2 separate regions of the Homo sapiens genome follow, and region 1 is linked to region 2. Evidence: promoter capture Hi-C in human tissues and cell types (Jung and others, 2019). All regions are on one chromosome and are shown on one strand. The core of a region is centred on a gene start or on the middle of the fragment in contact, and the rest is flanking DNA. Distances in the headings are between cores, read along the strand shown. Region 1 holds the start of LOC124900931 (a long non-coding RNA gene). Region 2 holds the start of BRD9 (bromodomain containing 9).

Region 1 (6,045 bases), core at 1,849-4,348, 72 kb before region 2:
TTTTATTCTTTTAAAACTCTTCGTATTTTTCATGGTGTCCCATGTTTTCCTTTGATTTTGAACCCTTCTTCTACAGTTGATAACTTTAAAGATGGTCACTATAGATTAACTCTGGGGCTCGTGTCTGGGCACAGGCGGCCTCTGGCAGCTCTCACTCCTGGGGCTGGCTTCCCTGGGTGTTTCGTCACTAGGACTGTAGGATCGTCTTTGGGGGAACTCTGACCGTGGGAATCTCAGGAGGCAGGTGGGGGAGTCCCCCTTCAGAGCAGGTGGCCCTGGTTTAGGCAGTCTTGGCTTGTCACCAGCCTGGGACCGTTTCTGTTTGTTTGTCTTTTTACCTGGTAGTTCTGGCATCACAGAAATAATGTAAATATGGATCCCAGACTGGTTGATGAGCAGGTTCATCTATGGTCAATTTATCTCATTTTATCGACAGGTGGGTATTTTTTCGAAGTCTGTTCTTTCTTTCTTGTAAACTTAGAAGTTTGTTTTAAATGTTTGCTTTTGTTTTGCTTTGCGTCGTTCAGCATTTCTCATTGCCTCTGGGTGTCTCTCCGTTTTTCATGTGTCACAGCGATGTACACACAGGAAAACACCAAGAGGCATAGCCCCTGCTGTAAGTTAGATACGTGTTCATTTACATTTAAATTATTTCTTACAAGGAGGAAGTGTCGTACTCAACATCCATCTTTTGAGTATTTTGAATAATTCCTCCTTCATTCATTCCTTTATTTACCCATCAATAAATAATTATTAATAATTATAGGCTAATTTGCTATTCACATTTCTCTTTGCTCAGCGACACCCCAGCAGCAATGAGCACAGTTAGTGCCCTGACCTTGGTCTCTAAAGCTCATTCTCCAGTAAAAAGAGCAGGGTTCCTTGGAGAAATGATGGATTCCAGGGCTGGGGGAAAAACCGGGGCAGCCTGGGGTTATGCTGGAAAGCGAGAAAGTGCTCCCGAAGGATGGGAGGGTCCCAAGGGCCCGCCTGGAAAAGCCCAGTGGCCAGAGCTGGGTAAATTTTAGCAACTAAGTAAATAATGACAGTGTGGGATGATCATCCAAAGCATAAATATGCACAAGTCCACATGAAGGCACACGAGTGATTGAATAAATCAGTGAGGGGAGGGCGGTCCTTCCTTCAGAGGAATTCCAGCAGAGTAGTGAGGAAACAAATCATCTCAGAACACCACAGTAGTAATTGTTGCAGACAAAACCCACCAACCCATGCTAAAATTAGCAGAAAAGACTTTGAGGAGAAATAGGATACTCTTGTAGTCTCAAAGTATCTTCCCTGAGAGGCCAAGGCAGGTAGATCATCTGAGCTCAGGAGTTTGAGAGAAGCTTGGGCAACACGGTGAAATCCTGTCTCTAAAAAAATACAAAAATTACCTGGGCGCAGTGGCACACACCTGTAGTCCCAGCTACTTGGGAGGCTGAGCGAGTGGATTGCTTGAGCCCGGGAGGTAGAGGTTGCCGTGAGCTAAAATTGCACGACCGCACTCCAGCCTGAGGGACAGAGAGAGACCCCATCTCAAAATAAGTAAATACAAATAAATAAATTACAAATGAAGAATAGTAACGTTACAGTGGGGGAAGCCAGCAGATCCCACCAGAACCAGGTGACCAGGGCCAAAACAACCCATAATGAGGCAAAGCATAGGGCCCGTGAGTCACTACTGCGGACGCTGAGCAGGGTATGGGGCTTCTGCCAGTTTCTTGGCACAGACACATAACTTCGATCCAGACATGATAAAATAGCAAACTCAAACTGAGGGCTGTTCTTCAAAACACCCAGCCAGTGCTCTTCCAAGTGGCAAGGCCATGGGAGGCAAGGAAACACGGGGCCTGCCGTGGGCTGGAGCCTACAGCGAGATGACACCTGCGTGCTCATGGAACTCAGTGTTGTTTCTAAAGCAGGAGGTGGATGTTACCAGAAACTGGAGGAATCTGAATCAAGCTACTGTGTAGTTAATTGCCCCGTGTTAATTCTTAGCCTCAATCCTTGTGGTCAAGGTCGGGTATGCAAGGTGCTGACACGGGAGGAAGCTGCCTGAAGGGGGCGGGGACTCCTGGACGATCTTGGCAACTCTTCCATAAGTCTAACGTTATTTCAGAAAAAAAAGTGTAGTGACATAGCTTAACAAAAAATAAGTGTAAAAAAGCTGAAAAGCAACAGTTAATCCTACGTGAGAGACAACGATGGTTGACTTTCTATACTTGGTGTTTCCCCAAGAAAGAAGCCCCTGGATGCCAGGGTCCCTCCCACTCTACACGTCAGCACGAGGCCGCGGTTCGCTCCCATCATCCGGTTCTAGATGTCAGCACGAGGCCGCGGCTCGCACCTGTCATCTGGGAGTTTCTCCCTCCCCTCCTGCCCACAGGACAACTTCTACTTCTCCTTTGGAATTTCTGAACACAGGAGGCCCTTCTCGGAAGCTCAGCTCTGCCTTCGCCCGCCAGGGCTGTTTCTCCCCTCGAGCCTCTGTCTCCACACCTGTGAAACGGGACGATAAGGGCCCCTTCATGGTGCGGAGGGAGGGCTAAGTTCATAAACGCGTGCAAACGAGGTGAGGACTGGCCGGCACGTAGAGACCCCGTGATGGCTGTCGGCCACCAAACAGACATTCTCCGTGCTCTTCATGCTCTTGCTTATGAGGAGAGATGCTGTGAAGATAAGTTTAAAAACGGCCATGCCATGACAGTTCACAAATAATATTATTCCCTCTGCGAATGCCCTTACCTTCTCTGATGACACTTGTTTCCTATCAACATCGATTTCTGTTGGCTTTCATGCCACCCTCTCTGAATGAGAATTGGGAAGACTCCAATGGCTGTTTTTAACCCCATATTTTTCTGTTCTGTAAACTTCTGTTCATTGCCAGGCTTTGTATCTTCCTTCTTTTAAAAGCGAAAGTGTCCTTTCTCTTCTTGTTTGGAACCTAGAATTGTGTATCGATGCATTTTTGGTGATTTCCCAATAACTAGCTGTGATCCTGCTCCACAGAGCCCTAATGCTTGAGCTCAAACTGTCCGAACCCACACTGCACTCCTTGGAGAAAATGAATGCAGCCTGAATTCTGCTGCTGAGAGTGCCTGGCCGTCCTGGTGGTCACTGACTCACTGGGGTCTGGCCGTCCTGGCAGCTCCTCAGGTCACCGGACTCTGGGGAGGCACCGTGCTGGTTCTGCCTGTGCCTGGTGGGACCCCCTGGTTCCCGGCACTGTCTGGGCCTCGTTCTGAGAGATGACTCCTTCTCACCATTGGTCACCAGACCTGGGCCCTCGGCCACTCGTGGCGTGGCTGAGATTTCAGGTCTCAGAGGACTGTCACCCCCTTCCTCCTATTCAATTTCTGCATGAAGTCTCTAAATCAATAACAGAGAAGGGGAGAGGAAAAAGGAAAGAAAAACTCCCACCTAATGGCCATTTTCAGAGCAGCCGCAGAACCATGTGACACAGCTGACCGAGGCAGCATTGCAGATACATTTGTGTGCCTGCAGATCTCAGGTACACGGACCCGTCTCCATGCTCAGGGGGCCTCTAAAGGGGGTGCAGGCTTTGGGGGCAGAGCAGAGGGGTGTAGGACTCTGGGGAGGCCACGACCACTGAGGGAAGGACCTTGCTATCTCACAAGGCCGAATCCTCCCCAAGGTGGCTGCCGTCTCCCTGGACCCTGCGTTCTGCACCCCCGGGAGGTAGGGAGTTGGATCTCGTACCAACGATGAATGCGTGGACACGTGTGGATGCCGTCCGCTTCCCAGAGTCCCCAGCCGGGCTCCCCAGGGCTCTGCGGGACCCTCTTCCATGCACCTGTGCTGTTTGCTCTCAGGTGGCTGCAAGCAAGTCCCTTTTCTCAGCCAGGCAGGAGGGAGTGGAGGAAGGGCCTGTGTGTCTCCTCAGTTTCAAAGAAACTCCCACGGCAGAGCGTGCTCTTGAACTAAAGCTTGAATGAATCAGAAACATCTGGGCTGTTTTTTCTGTGCTTAAGATACAGGAAACAGACCCATCCAAAGCCGTTTGGGGTTTTATCAAGGGGTCATTTAAGATGCAGAGCAACTTGAAATCGCCCATCTGTTGGAGAGCCGTGCGTGCTGACAGAGGGTAAGAAACTACAGCCCGCGCAGCTGCGGTCTTCATGTGGTCGCTGCACGCAAGGGTTTGCCGTTATCTGTTGCTTCTGAAGGCAAGGGTGAGGGGAGCGGAACTGGGTGTTGCCTGGTTCTGCCGTCAGACCAGGCACTGGGGAGGGAGTCCTGTGGGGAGGTGGGGCCAGGCCTTGTCTCTGTGACAGTGAACGTCCCTGTCCATGTTGGTGTTTCTCAGACAAGCCACCTCCTTCCACCCCCACGGTGGTGCAAGGGGAGGCTTTAGTCCAGGATAACAAATTCTGAACCAGCTGCTGCGTCTGGAGCCCCTGAGGGCTTATGCACTGGTGACCAGGGAGTTTCCTGGCTTATCACATCCGAGGCCGACTTTCGGGCTACAGAGGGGCGTGTGAGCCCCTGGAGTAGACAGAGGAACTGCTTCTCTGCCAGGCGCTGTGTTGAGATGAGAGGGAGGGCAGGTCCTTCGGCTTCTGAAACATGAAACAACCCCACACCTAGGGCAGGGCGTGCAATGCCACCATGGCCTGGAAGACCCAAGAGTGATGAGTGCTGAGCACAGGCCAGGCCCGGGGCTGTCACGGGCAGAGCCACTGGCCCGGCGTGCAGGTGGGAAGGAGGTCTCGGTAACTAAGCATTCGCATGATTCTGTCCTCTGAGGACTGGGGCAGGTGCTTCCTCTACCTCCCAGCAGCCTCCCTAATTCCAGAAGAATAAGAACAGGGGAGAGGAAGCCAGTGCAAGGGCTCCCACCTGCTCCCTCCAAGCCAGAGGTGCTGCCTCGGTTCTTCACTTCCAGCCAGGCCATGCCTAGCAGGCCTTCGTCCAGTCCACGCGTGGCAGCGCTTGGCCTGCCTCAGGCCTGTGTCCTCAGGCATTGTTCCCTCCTGTGTCTGCCCTTGTCTGGGGAGTATTTTCTGTCCTCGCTTCAAGTCCCTGAGAGTCTGCCTGGCACCCTGACCCATTCTGCCAGCCCAGCCAGTCCATACCAGGGAAGCTCCAAGGGTGGGCCTGGGTGGGCCGTGCCCTGGAGGAACACTTCTTGTGGCCCAGATGAACGCCGTGGGTGTGGGGGCCATGTGGACGGTGGTGGGTGAGGCCGGGGGTCCCCACAGCGAGGGCTTGTGGGTCTTGGTGCTGCTTCCATGTGGAGGGGAACTGAGGTCTAAGGTACAGCCCAGGTCCCAGGCCGGGTCACCCCCGTCCACCCTGCCTGTCTTCCGTGTGCTTGGGGAAGTGGAGGCAGCCCTGCCGAGGCCCCACGTCCTCTGTCACCTTTGCAGACTTTGGCACCCCGTGATGCTACCGTCCTGAGTGCCCCGGGGCCTGGCTGGTGTAAGCGTCTTCCTGAATTCCCTCTTTCATTCAAGCTCTAGAATTGGGCGCCACTCTGTGCCAGGCGGCTGGGGCTAGACCCCGCTCCCCGGCTGATGCTGTCCTGCCCCAGGGATGCCTGGCCAGGCTCTTGCTGTGTCCACCACGCTCCATCCACACCCCTCCATCACATTTCACCAGGGGCCCGGGCCAGAGACGCATCCGACATCCCATCTGGGAACAACGGCCTCAAAGAATGGGGAGCAGCGAGGGCCGCCAGACACTGAGTCCTTCTGGATCTTTCTGGCCAGGCTCCTTCCCTGGCATCTGGGCTCGGTGGGGGTGGTCTGCCCCCTCATTCCCGCAGACCCTGGCCCCTGGCAGGGCCCCCAGTCTCCACCTGCCCTGTCTGTTTCCTCCCCAGTGTAACTATGCTGTAGAAATATATTTTGGCCACACCCTGCATGAAGGTTCCAGTCTCTGTGTCTGTGGGAAGGGCTAATCTGCGGCAAGAAGTGGTCCCTGGGATGGAAAGATCCTGACACAACGGAGGTTTGTGTCCTGCTCATGCAACGGCTCTGCCTGGTGAGCCTGGCTTCCTGGCACTCACGCCCTTGCGGTTTC
Region 2 (5,918 bases), core at 2,021-4,520:
CAGTGCTGGGACTACAGGCATGAGCCACCTTGCCCAGTCGGTTTCCTAACTGTGTCTTTTTACATTTGTTATTAACTCAGAGAAATGTTTACATTGGTAGATAGAAATCTATTTCATTCTTCTTAATGGCTATATTGTACATAGTGTAGATATATGGAATTCCTACATTTATTAACTGACCTCTGGTGGACAGTTAAAATATTTCAAATTGTTGGCTATTATTAACAGCATCTAACAAACATCTGTTCAGAAAGATCTACAAAATTGCATGATTATCAGCTACGATAAATTCCTACAAGTGAATCTGCAGTCAGAGAACATTAGAACTTTCCCTGGGCAGCCCGTGCCCTCCAGTTAGGGTGTCCATCCCTCCACAACAGTGTGGGAAGCTCTTCCTTCCCTCAGACTGGCCAAAACCACGGCATTATCAGATCTCAGTGTGCACAAAGCTCTGAGCATGCACAAACATGAGTCCTAACGTATGAATGGGGAGGTCCACCTCACGAGCAGAACTTAGTACCAAGCCTGTCCTTCACAGCTGGTTCTTACAGGACAGGAATTGTACTGCTGTAAGTGATAAGTCTTCCTTAGGAATGTTTCAGGTTGTTTTTATACTGGTGCCAGAATCGCCCCAATGCCTCCACGCCCTCACACAAAGCTCCTCTAACCCATACGCATCAACTCAGATGGTGGGTGAGGTGGCCATGCATGGGATGAGATAAAGGAATTCTATAAGGCAAGCCCATCTTCTCATCTCTGTGGCCCCACACCTCCTATGGTCCTAGCACACACTGAGCACTTTATAAACATTTGCTGATTGAAAGAATGAGACATGGCACACAGGCCTTACCAGCGCAGCCCACTATTGTACAGCACTGCATTCTCATTCCTGGTTTCCAATCTGTTACTGCTATACTGAGAGCACCCCGACATCAGGGCTACTTCCTACTCCCAGCACCTGGCTCCTGACAGCTAGTGAAAAGAACTTGTCTAGCCACCCAAACCAACAGAGAAGTGAACCTGTTTCTGACAACAGGCTATGAAAACGGCAAGACATTCATGATACAACCTTTTGTATTCAGCTAACTGTTCCTTGGCCCAGCAAATTAGTAACTTACCTGTGAGTCTTTAACCTTTAATTCTGTGTCAATAATAGACACAGACTGCACATTTCTGGTCAAAAAAGGTTCATCAAACTCAGTCCATGTGTAATCACCAAACACAATATTATGTCTGTTGAGTAGCTTTCTAACACTCAGGTTTATGTCTTCTTTCTTTGCAGTGCTAAAAAAAGAAGCCAAAACACACATAAATGATCTTAGTTCAAAAACAAAATGTTAAAATGAAGTGTTTTGAAAAACTCAGACAATACATAAGAAAGCCCAGTAGTTAACAGGGTAAGTTGGAGTTGGCCTGCCTGGGACCAAATCTAGAGCCACCCCTTGCCTGTGGGTCCTCTACCAGCTGTGCCCTGAAGAAGCTGTGCCTCAGCTCCCAGTTAGAAAAAGGGGACAACAGTAAGAGTTCTCGCTATGCTGGGCTACTGTGAAGTCATTAATACACTCAAAGTGTTTAGGACGATACCTGGCACATAGTAAGCACGCAATAATGTTGGCTTTCACTATTACTAATGAAGTTCCACAGCTGTGGGGTCAGGCCTGGGGTCTGCATTGTAACAAGTCTCCAATAGCCGTGATTCGTGCTGAGAAAATCTAATGCTTTCAGCTTGGTATCCAGGGCTTCCCTTGGTCCCCCTTGCTGCAGTCCTCCTAACACCTCCCCTTTCTACAACAGTGACCTGGTCCCGGATCACACCTCTGTGCCCTGCTATGCACTGTCCCAGCTTACTGGCCTGATCAACTGCAGTCACCCTCTAAGTCCTATTCAATGTCTGCCTCCCTCTGAGCCCTCCTGGACAGGCTCCTCAGAGCCAGGCAGGTGACATGTGGCCCCTTTGCAATCGTCCCAGCACCCTACAAGCAGCGACCACCATGCATAGTGCGGTTGTGTGCAGGTGTCTATGAACTCTGGTGCAGTTGTACGTAGGTGTCTGTCCTCTAGGTGCAGCTGTGCTCTGGTGTGATTATGCCTAGCGTCTCTGGGCCCAGGTGTGGTTGTACATGGGGTGTCTCTAGGCTGCGGTGGCACTGTGTACAGGTGTCTCTGAGCGCTAAGGTGTTTACACAGGTGTCGCCAGGCTGTGATGGGGCTTTGTGCAGGTGTCTCTGGGCCCTGGTGCAATTATGCTGACGTGTCTGAACTCCAGCACCTAGAAAATACCCAGTCAACAGCTATTCTGTTAAAGGAAAGGTCTCTTCCTCTGCATCCCCTCTGAGGCTGGTGGTCTCACCTGACCTCAATCCACCCTCCGTGGACATAAGGAGGGTCTGTGAAGGTCTGGCCCCGCCGCTGAGTTCCCCCCACTCCAGGGAGCAGCACAGCCCACAGGCCCCACCATACCATGAACTGACTTGGTCACAAATGAGTGGGATGTGCTTTGAACCCTAAAAATTTAACATCGAGTCCGTGAGGAACGGGAACAATTAAAGGGTCTGAGAAGCAGTGGCTCAAAGAATAACCACCCAGCTTTCGGCTGAGACTAGAGCTCTCTGTAATGCGCAGCCATCCTATTCTCCAACGTGGGACTCAGGGCCACATCAATGCACTGGAGGACAGCCGGGGCAGGGGCAGGGTCAGGGCCAGGTCCGTGAGCTGAGGTCGGGTCGGGGCTCAATCTGTGAGCTGGGGTCCTGCGCGCAGGGCTCGGGTCGGCCGGGTCAGTGCCCTGCGGTGGGGTCGCGTCATTGCGCTAGGATCCGGTCGGGGCCCGGCGGCCTGTGCGCCCGGGTCCAGTCGGGCCGGATCAGTACCCTGGGGTTCGGTCGCATCAGAATCAGTGCGCTGGGGTCGGGGCTCGGTGCACGCGCTGGGGTCGGGGCGGGTGGGTGCCCAGAGGATGTGTCGGACAGGTCCGGCTCACCTGCTGCCGCGCTGATGCACCTCCACGTGGACCGTTGGCGACTCGGCCACACAGGGAAGCGCCTGCTTCAGGTCGCCCACGGCCTCGTCCATGGCGCCCCCGAGAGCAGTGGGGACCCAACCAGGGCGCGGCCGCCGCCACCTCACGCCCAGCGTCGCCGCCACAGCCGCTGCCTCAGCCCGCGGGCCCCGCCCTAGCTTCGAATCTGCCGCGCGAGGCGCACCACCTCCTGACCCGGAAGCGCTCGGGCCCGGCAGGGCCACTTCCTGCCGCGGCCCCGCCTCGCCCCGTTTCCGGCGCGGCCCAGCGAGCTCGGCAACCTCGGCGCAGCGAGCGCGGGCGGCCAGCCAGGGCCAGGGGGCGGTGGCGGCCAAGGTCCGACCGGGTGCCAGCTGTTCCCAGCCCCCGCCTCGGGCCCGCCGCCGGCGCCGCCATGGGCAAGAAGCACAAGAAGCACAAGGCCGAGTGGCGCTCGTCCTACGAGGGTGAGGCGGCGGCGCTTTGTGACGCGCGGCGGGCGGGGTCCCGGGCACGGGGGAGGAGTTCCGGGCACGCGGACGGGGGTCCTGGGCACCGGGCGAGGTCCTGGCCACGAGGGAGGGGTTCTGGGCACGCGGGAGGGGGTCCTGGGATTTCGGGCAGGGAACCGGGCACACGTGAGGGGTCCTGGGTAGGCGCTTACGTTCCTGGTAGAGGGTTCTGGGTTCGAGGCTGCAAGCCCACTCACCCCGGTCCTGGAGACTAGGGAAGCATCTGTGCTGGCTTTTGTGTGGAGCTCAGGGAGAAGCTGGGCTGCCCTTTCTCCCGCCTTTCCCTCCCTCTCCCTTGCTCCCGCAGCAGCTCCATGGGTGTCAGCGGGCAGCACGGGCGCCTGCAGGAAGTCAGGCGAGGGTGAACCGAAGTGCTGGGGGTTTCTAGGAGGGAGATCGGGCTCCGGGGTTCCAGGTCCCTCTTAATCCATCTTCTTGAACGAGTAATGTGAACAACATCCCACAGGGCCTCTGGTGAGGACACCGTGGCTCGAAAGGGACCTGAAGCTCCCTGCGGAGGGGAAGGGAGAACAAGGAGGCAGTGACATGCCGCCACTGTGGTCTTCCCTTCCGTCTTTCCCTGCTGGTTGGCAGCCCCGCTGTACTCCTTAGGGAGGCCTTTCCCTCTTAGCACCTTCACGTCTCACCTGGCTGCGTGGCGTTTGCACCTGAGCACGCGGGTAGAACTCGGTCTGTGTCTGTGCAGATTATGCCGACAAGCCCCTGGAGAAGCCTCTAAAGCTAGTCCTGAAGGTCGGAGGAAGTGAAGTGACTGAACTCTCAGGATCCGGCCACGACTCCAGTTACTATGATGACAGGTCAGACCATGAGCGAGAGAGGCACAAAGAAAAGAAAAAGAAGAAGAAGAAGAAGTCCGAGAAGGAGAAGCATCTGGACGATGAGGAAAGAAGGAAGCGAAAGGTAAAGGAGCAGCGGCGGTGGCCCGGACGCTGCCCACGAGGAGCCCGTGGGGAGCCTGGTCCCAGGACCCAGGCAGAGTGCGCCTGCGTGGCTGGAGGAGGGGAGGGGGTGTTCCGTTGGTAGCAAAACGCGAACCGCTGAGGCCCGCAGACTCAGTTCCAGGATCCTGGGTGTGCTGTTCCTCAGCAGACCCTGCCAGGGTCTCTGTGAGGAGGGAGCCTGGCATGAGGAGGATCTCGGAGGGGGTTTCCCTTAGTTCTGTCCCTCCCCTGAGAACTGCGAGGGGATTGGGCAGACCTGTCCGGATCCCGCCTACTCCTGCCTTTCTCACTCCCTTGACTCTGCCGCCCAGGAAGAGAAGAAGCGGAAGCGAGAGAGGGAGCACTGTGACACGGAGGGAGAGGCTGACGACTTTGATCCTGGGAAGAAGGTGGAGGTGGAGCCGCCCCCAGATCGGCCAGTCCGAGCGTGCCGGACACAGCCAGGCAAGGGTGCACTTTTAGAGACTCTCCTGGTGTTCACAGCTCATCGTTGTAAATGAGGGGTCGGCACCGTGTCCTGTTGCTTTGGGGAGAAGCATGGGAGGGAGGAGAGCTGGTATTTCCAGGGCCTCATCCCAGGTGTCCTCTGGCCTGAGGTTTCCTCCGGTGTCTCTGAATGTCTAGAGCAAGGCGTGGCCAGTTACCACTGGTGCCCTTCAGTTTTGTTTTTTAACTTGTTAGCTAAGGATGGCTTATATGTTTTTTAAGCGTTCATAAAAAGAAACAAAAAGGCATCTCCACAGAGACCAATCGTATGTGACCCGCAAAGCCTAGACTGTTTTTTGTCTGGCCTTTATGTAAAAAGTTTGCCAGCCCTGGGTCTTGAAGTTTGGTTTTGTTTGCACTTAAGACAGTATTGGAACAGTAGCCCCATCTGGGTCAGACTGGTAAGAGAGATGCATGTCAGTGAAAACGCAGGTAATTCCCCTTGGGAAGAAGGGACCTCGAGGCCCAAATGGTGGGTCTGAAGTTGCTGAAAGTGACCATAGGCTGAGACAAAGGAAGCTGGAGGCCTTTAGTAGAATCTCTGTCGTGGGCACCATCTGCGAAGGATGGCATTTGGCTGGAATTTCCAGTTGACAAGGACTTGCCCTCTGAGTTCTCTTTGTCCCCAGCCTTCCTGTGCACAACTCACAGTGATGAGGCATTTGTACCTAAGACAAGGGGTGTCTCTTCCCAGCAACTCTCAGCATCCAGTGGTTCCTGGATTATAGGGAAACAGACGGCTGGGCTTTGGGACATGGGACATCAGGGAGTGGGGAGGCTAGTGCTGCGATCATTCAGGCCGTCAGAAACTGTCTGAGGCCTGCTGGCTCCACTGAAGGAAAGTTCTGGAAAGCTGGTGGCCTTCTGAGCTCCTGTGGTCATTTGGCTCTTCAGGCACTTTCTTTTTTTAATTTATTTTTGAAACATGGTCTTGCTGTGTCGCCTAGGCTGGAGTGCAGT

The links. Contacts are between HindIII fragments. The study calls those that stand out against the background at their distance.
Region 1: a contact is called between a fragment that was not itself captured here and the fragment with the promoter of BRD9 in region 2, in 2 of the 25 tissues and cell types used here (H1 embryonic stem cells and bladder).

What each region holds. Positions count from the first base shown.
Region 1 is chr5:962,159-968,203 of GRCh38, reverse strand. LOC124900931 (a long non-coding RNA gene) reads left to right here and starts at 4,043. Exons shown (of 2, transcript XR_007058676.1): 1 at 4,043-4,105; 2 at 5,478-5,886. RefSeq lists enhancers at 2,367-2,868, 4,455-4,614. The HindIII fragment of the contact is 5,091 bases long and covers 553-5,643 here.
Region 2 is chr5:890,153-896,070 of GRCh38, reverse strand. BRD9 (bromodomain containing 9) reads left to right here and starts at 3,270. Exons shown (of 16, transcript NM_023924.5): 1 at 3,270-3,465; 2 at 4,217-4,431; 3 at 4,784-4,916. The coding sequence starts at 3,414. It overlaps TRIP13 (thyroid hormone receptor interactor 13), which reads right to left and starts at 3,187. Exons shown (of 13, transcript NM_004237.4): 1 at 2,981-3,187; 2 at 1,119-1,284. The coding sequence starts at 3,072. RefSeq lists silencers at 2,901-3,520, 3,711-3,929 and an enhancer at 3,269-3,901. The HindIII fragment of the contact is 22,788 bases long and covers 1-5,918 here.